Regions from separate parts of the Homo sapiens genome. Here region 2 is linked to region 1. Evidence: promoter capture Hi-C in human tissues and cell types (Jung and others, 2019). All regions are on one chromosome and are shown on one strand. Each heading gives the region's core, a stretch centred on a gene start or on the middle of the fragment in contact. The rest is flanking DNA. Distances are from core to core; before and after follow the strand shown.

Evidence for each region. Contacts are between HindIII fragments. The study calls those that stand out against the background at their distance.
Region 2: a fragment that was not itself captured here is called in contact with the fragment with the promoter of AFTPH in region 1 in 1 of the 25 tissues and cell types used here (aorta).

What each region holds. Positions count from the first base shown.
Region 1 is chr2:64,522,685-64,525,652 of GRCh38, reverse strand. AFTPH (aftiphilin) reads right to left here and starts at 1,325. Exons shown (of 10, transcript NM_203437.4): 1 at 1,041-1,325. AFTPH-DT (AFTPH divergent transcript) reads left to right here and starts at 1,498. Exons shown (of 1, transcript NR_136167.1): 1 at 1,498-2,968. It overlaps MIR4434 (microRNA 4434), which reads right to left and starts at 140; the gene lies at 88-140. RefSeq lists enhancers at 446-946, 947-1,447, 1,549-1,768 and silencers at 819-1,068, 1,079-1,158, 1,189-1,348. The HindIII fragment of the contact is 9,621 bases long and covers 1-2,968 here.
Region 2 is chr2:64,313,038-64,315,991 of GRCh38, reverse strand. No RefSeq gene overlaps it. Among named protein-coding and RNA genes, the nearest start is that of MIR4433A, 26 kb to the left of the region's middle. The HindIII fragment of the contact is 4,884 bases long and covers 1-2,954 here.

The sequences.
Region 1 (2,968 bases), core at 76-2,575:
CAACAATTAAGTGTAGCATCAAAGATAAACTCTGTGTCTCCCCTCCACCAAATAAAATCCTCGGAATAGGAGGTGGAAGGAAGACTTACACTGTAGGAAAAGTTGAAAACCAAAGTTCTACTTTACTTCTCCTAAAGTGAGAACTTTGAAACGGAACCATTACTTTTGTTTCATCCCCCCGCCCAGTAAAAAATTTACATGTATGAGTCAGTTCTTCCCTCGGCCCCAACAGAAAAGATTCAGTATAACCAAGCTATAACTTGCACAAAGCAACAAGGAAAAAAAAACCTTGCTATCCCCATTACTTTCCTAATAGAGCAAGGACCCTACCACCCCTCACTCCATACTCTGCCTCTGCCCCAAGCAAGACGCAGCACCTGCCAAACCAGGCACTTAAGGAATATGGTCCAACTTTTCAAACGCAAACTGGAGAGGAGACGCAGATAATTTCTTGAAGAGTGCAAGAAGACAGCAGAAAAGGTACTCTGAGGAAGGGATGCGTGAGCTTTGGGGCTGTCCCCTCTGCCTGTTGGAGGATTCCAAATTCGCTTGCTTCAGAGACCCTTGGAAGCAGCACACTCAGGTCGCGGCCAGCCTCGGGCCTCGGTGAAGGAGGCAGTGTTTACACCTGTCACGAGGGAGGGGGAAGGAGAGCGAAGAAGCCCAAGCAAAGCCCCAAACTTCTGAACAGCTCCCTGGAGAACGCAGCCAGCGCGGAGCTTTGGGAGGTGGAAGCAAAGGGGCAGGGAGAGCCGGCGGTGGCCGGGGAGGGAAGGACTCCCACTTACCCGGCCGGTGCCCGGGATGGCGAGGAGGGGGCCGTGCGCTTCGGGCGCCACCAGCGGCGTTCCCGCACTCGCCGCAGAAGAGAGCAGAGCCGGGAGCCCGCAGGCCCGCAGAGCCAGCTCCGTCCTCACAGCTCCCGGCTCCGCGGCGGGCAGATGCTCCCGGCCCGGGTGAGGGTCTGGCTGCTGGGCCGGGCCTGGTCCCCGCACCCTCTTTCCCCGGCGCAGCTAGGGGAGCGGAGCGGCGGCGCTTACCTGGCTCCTTCGGGGCGGCTGCGATGGGCATGGCTCAGGGGCCCGGGGAGGAACTGACTCCCCGGGGAAGGACCGTCTATTCCGACGCGGAACTGGTGAGAGCGGAAGGCCGGCTGCTCACAGCCCTGTCAGCGCAGCAGCACCATGGACGCCCACCCGGAGTTTCACCGCTGCCGCGGGACCCCCATCCCACTACCCTCCGCCCTCTTCCGCCGCCGCCGCCGCCTCCTCCACCTCCTCCGCGGAGACCCCCCGCCCACTCCACACACTCTCCCATCATGCAGCGGGGGAACCGCTGCCGCCGACACGTCACTTCCGGGCGCAGGTGGCTAGGTCGGGACCGGGCGCTGGTGGGTGCTGTGGGGTGGGGGAGGACACTCCAGGGGAATTGGTGTCACAGAACGCTTATCCCTGCGCAGGCGCTGTCGTGCAGAGCGCCGACCGCCATTTTGGGTGCGGGCAAGCTGCCCTTTCCTTTTACTTCCTTGCGAGTCATAGAGCTGTAGGGGGATAGACGTCTTCCCGCACTCAGGCGCCGGTTGAGGCTGCGCTCCTGGCGAAGGACAGGTGCTCCTTTCAGCCGGTTAACGTTCAGCTCAAGACCGGATTAAGTCTCTTGCTCTCCAAATAAAATTGTAAAGGTTTGGAAATATAGAACCACATTTTTACCAAAAACCTACTAGAGAGCATTCGTCAGCTTGCCCTTTTCGCCCCGAAAAACGACTTTTTCATTCACAGCCTGTCTCTTCCTCTTTTTAAATTTATGCCGACAGAGGAAGAAGCTGATATTTAACAAATAACAAGAGGTTGCGATAAATAGAATTTAAGGTGGGAAAGCAGCCGCCAAACTGACAAATCGTCTTCGAGACCGACAAGAAAATAGTAGTCCGGAATTTGGCTAATGGATGGAGAAGGTGGTCGTTTTTCATAGACCCTTACGGAGAATATCTAGTGAAGCTAAAGAGATCACCATAAACTTATGCATTCAAACGCATTTCTGGAACAGAGGTCGTAACCGATTTTGTTTCCATCATCAGTCCTGAACAGTTGATTATTTATATAATCAACTGTTATTTATATAAAGGTAATAAAAATATTACCTTTCCTCCTCCTTTACAATGAATATCTGTTAGAACACCTGCCAGTGTAACAATCAGACTACAAGGCTACAGGATTATGATTACTGTCTCGGATGATGAGCCCGGGGTCCTACAAATCATGACCCCCGCCGGCCCCTCATTCTGCCCATATTTGCCAAACGTCTGCATCAGTAATTTGAATAATTTAAAATAGTTCCAAAACAGCAAAGCTCAGCAGTTACGCAAAGAAACAAGAATGGAAAACATCCCCTCAGGCACAGAGAAGTGTCCACCCCTTTGGGTGGAGGAATTATACAAATCAGGAGAAAGATAAGGACAATAGCAGTTCATCACGATTTATCCCGCCTCTGCAATGTTCTAGACAAATTAACTCGGAGCGCTCCAATGGACCCGCATTTGTCTCTTTACTATTCAATCGCTGTAAGATATACGGAGACTGCATCACTTTAAATGGGAGTATCAATTGCTTTGTGGTTATGCTGGATTTTGTGTTATTGCTCAGTCACTAAAGTAAGAAAAATCTATATGGCTTGTCAAATTTATGCCTATTGTATTTCGCCCCCTGCTGGTTTAGCTCGTGTGCAAGCTTGAATTTGTGTGTGTGTAGAAACTAGAAATTGATTTTAAACGAACACATGCTTGTTTTCATTTTACAGCTCTACTAAACAGAAATATCAAAATAAGAACATATGACTAGACCTTAAAGCAGACCCTACACTAAGAACATGTTTAAACTAAATGAATTTAAACTGCACTCCAGCCTGCGCGACAGAGTGAAACCCTGTCTAAAAAAAAATTAAATTAAATTGCACACCCCCCATCAGCTTA
Region 2 (2,954 bases), core at 253-2,752, 210 kb after region 1:
GGGCAGGAATAATGGATGGGCTTTCTCATCAATGGCAACTGTTGTCCCTGTGTTGAGCTGTACTGCAGACAACCCCTTGCTTGCTCCAAACACTGCTGCACAGCCCAGCCTTGTGTGGATGGTGCTTTGGAGAAAGCTAAGGAATTGGGGCAGCATCCAACATGGGACAAAGCAATATGAGGAACACAGCAGTCTTAGAAGGAAAGACACGGGGTTCACTCAGGAGTGCAGAGGAATGGAGAAATCTGAGCAAGAGGAGACTAGGAGAACGGGAAGGTCCTCAAGAGTTCCAGCAAACTTTGTGGGAAGAGACATGCTGGCTTCCACCAAATGTGGGATGGGGGTTCCTGCCACTTCACTTGAATGTTAGAGAAAAGCATTACCCCAGAAGTGTGTATGGCCTGCGGCATCCAGGCAGTTGACACTTGGTTTTGCAGTTCCTCGTGGGACCATCTTTCCTCCTGGCCAACTCCCAAAAACCTGACAGCCAAGTTGGGAAGAGAAGTGAATGTTTCTTTCATGCTTTCTCTAACTTGGCTTGGATTAAAGGAGAACTGCTTCTCTTAAATCAAGAGTACGCAATCATTAGGAGGAGTGAGAAAATCTGTAGTTGGTAGAGGGCCAAAGTGGATTGGTGATCCTGGTGGTTGGAGACATTCAGAACAGGCGTTTGGGAATTCTGGGTTTTAGATGGGCCAGAATCCCATATCCCAACTGGCTCCTGAGACAGAACATGGAACACTTGCAGAAAGGTGTTAGATGTTGTTTCTGCTAATAGTAACACTATGTTTAATGTCCAAATATATTCTCTGTTTACACTTGTTCAAGTGATGGAATTTTAGGAGCTACACCTGGGGTAATAGAAAGGTGACAGGTGTTTCCTTGGTAATTCTCCTGAATATGGTTCTATCACATCTCTAGTCAAACTAAGATATAGACTGAAGCTTGGGACCCATTGGAAAAGGATCATTTGGGAATAAAAATCTTCACATTTATTGAGTGCCTTCTATGTGCCTGCGTGCTGCTAGACACTCTACACTAGTATAGTCTTCACAATCCAATGATATAACTTTATTTACATAATAAGGAAACTGAGGCTAAAGAGGTTGACAATGTGGCCTAAAGTCACACAGTGAGTACGTGGTATGGTTGGGTTTTGAACTCAGACTGACTGGCATTGGAGTCCACATACTTAGCTACTACCATATTCTACCTCTTTGCTCTGGGGGCGTTGTACTTAGGCACTGGGTGCACACAACCCTTCAGAACCATCCAGGGTCTTCCCATGAGCATGAAACTGCACAGAGGACTATATCCTCAAATGGCGAAGAGCCTGGGGTGAAGCTACACAGCTATTAATGTGCAACCTAGAAGTTTTTGCTTTTATTAGTTACATACACCTCTTTATCAACTTAGTTACTAGTCACATCCTAACAACTGTAAAAGCAGAACATTTCCAAAACATTTCTCTTATTTGATATTCCTAGTAGCCTGAGTTCCAGGCAAACAAGATTTTATTGTAATCTGAACAATAAATAAATGGTTATTTTCAAGCCCAACTTTAACTTTACTGAATATGTAGCATACTTATTATTCATTGCCTGCCAAAGCCACATTTTCACTAAATCTTGCAATTAGTGGAAAAACTATATTTTAAATACACATGTATAGTAGGTGTATTGAGTATAAGCCTTAATGAAATTCATTTTAAAACAGTGGAGTATCTGCTTGAAGACTGTATGAAGTACATTTTCCCGTGTCTTTTCTTAGGTTAATAAATATCTAGGGACCAGTTTAACTGCCGGCTTCAAGTAACCTACCAAGTAAAATAATATACCTAATGATTCTAGAAGAAGACATTTTCTTCCATTTTGAGGCAGTGTCTCTTATCTTGAAATTATGAATTTGAGGTTTATCTGATAGTGACTTTGCATGACCAAAAATGCTTTGGAGATTATGACATTAATTTTTAAGGAGGAGGAGGTCCAGGACTGTTGTTTTGTTGTGTAAAAATCTGTATTTTAAACATGTAATTCATTTTCAGTTCTACATTTTGTGTATATTGAGTCCATATTGCCGCCTTGGTAGAAAGCACAAAAGAGGGTTTTTAAATTTTCTGTTATATTAGTTATAAATGTTATAAAGGAGATAGAATTGAACAGCTTGTAACTGTACTGAATTTGATTTTCATTTCATAAGATTTATAGAGTGATGTGAGAGTTTAAACTTGTCCTAAAAAGGCTCTTAAATGAAAAACATGTCAGCTGTATTGAAAAAGGGCCTCAAAGAGCTTCTCCCTGCAGGAGTCAGAACTTATTATGGCATCATCAGCTAGTTTCAGTGCTGCTGGTGAAATGTGATTTCTCAGATAAAACAGCATCCCAAGAAATGACATTTACAAAACTTGGTTCTAGCCAGTTTGGAGCAAGAATTCACACATTCACACTGCTGTCCTCACTGCTGGCGGAGACCAAATTGAGAACATTTTTAGCAGGAAGAGCTGGCACTTGGCTCTGAACCCCATGGCTAGCGCCTGTGGAGAAACAGATAAGGAGTTGTACGGTTTGCTCCTAATAACCATGTTCCCTTGACATTGTAAATTTTTGCACAAAATTACCCAGAAGGCATAACAAAATACTCTTTGCTACAGTAAACCACTCCCGTGCATGGAAAGTATATAGTGAGCACTGGAGAGATCCGGGCTTCCTTTTCCAAAGTTTTTGGAACAGACTCCAGGTTTCTTTCCACCCAGGGGAAAAGCTGCTACAACACTTAAGGGCGGGGGGGGAGGGGAGGTGGGAATGATTAAAATTTGTTTTAAATGTGAATCATGACAAACCTATGAATTAGAAACTTAGAGAAAAACTTATTTGAGCAAGGATAGTCGCCAAAAAGCTCAGAGCAAAATTGAAAAAAAAAAAAAAAAGTCCTGATGCTCCAAGACTTCAGACTTG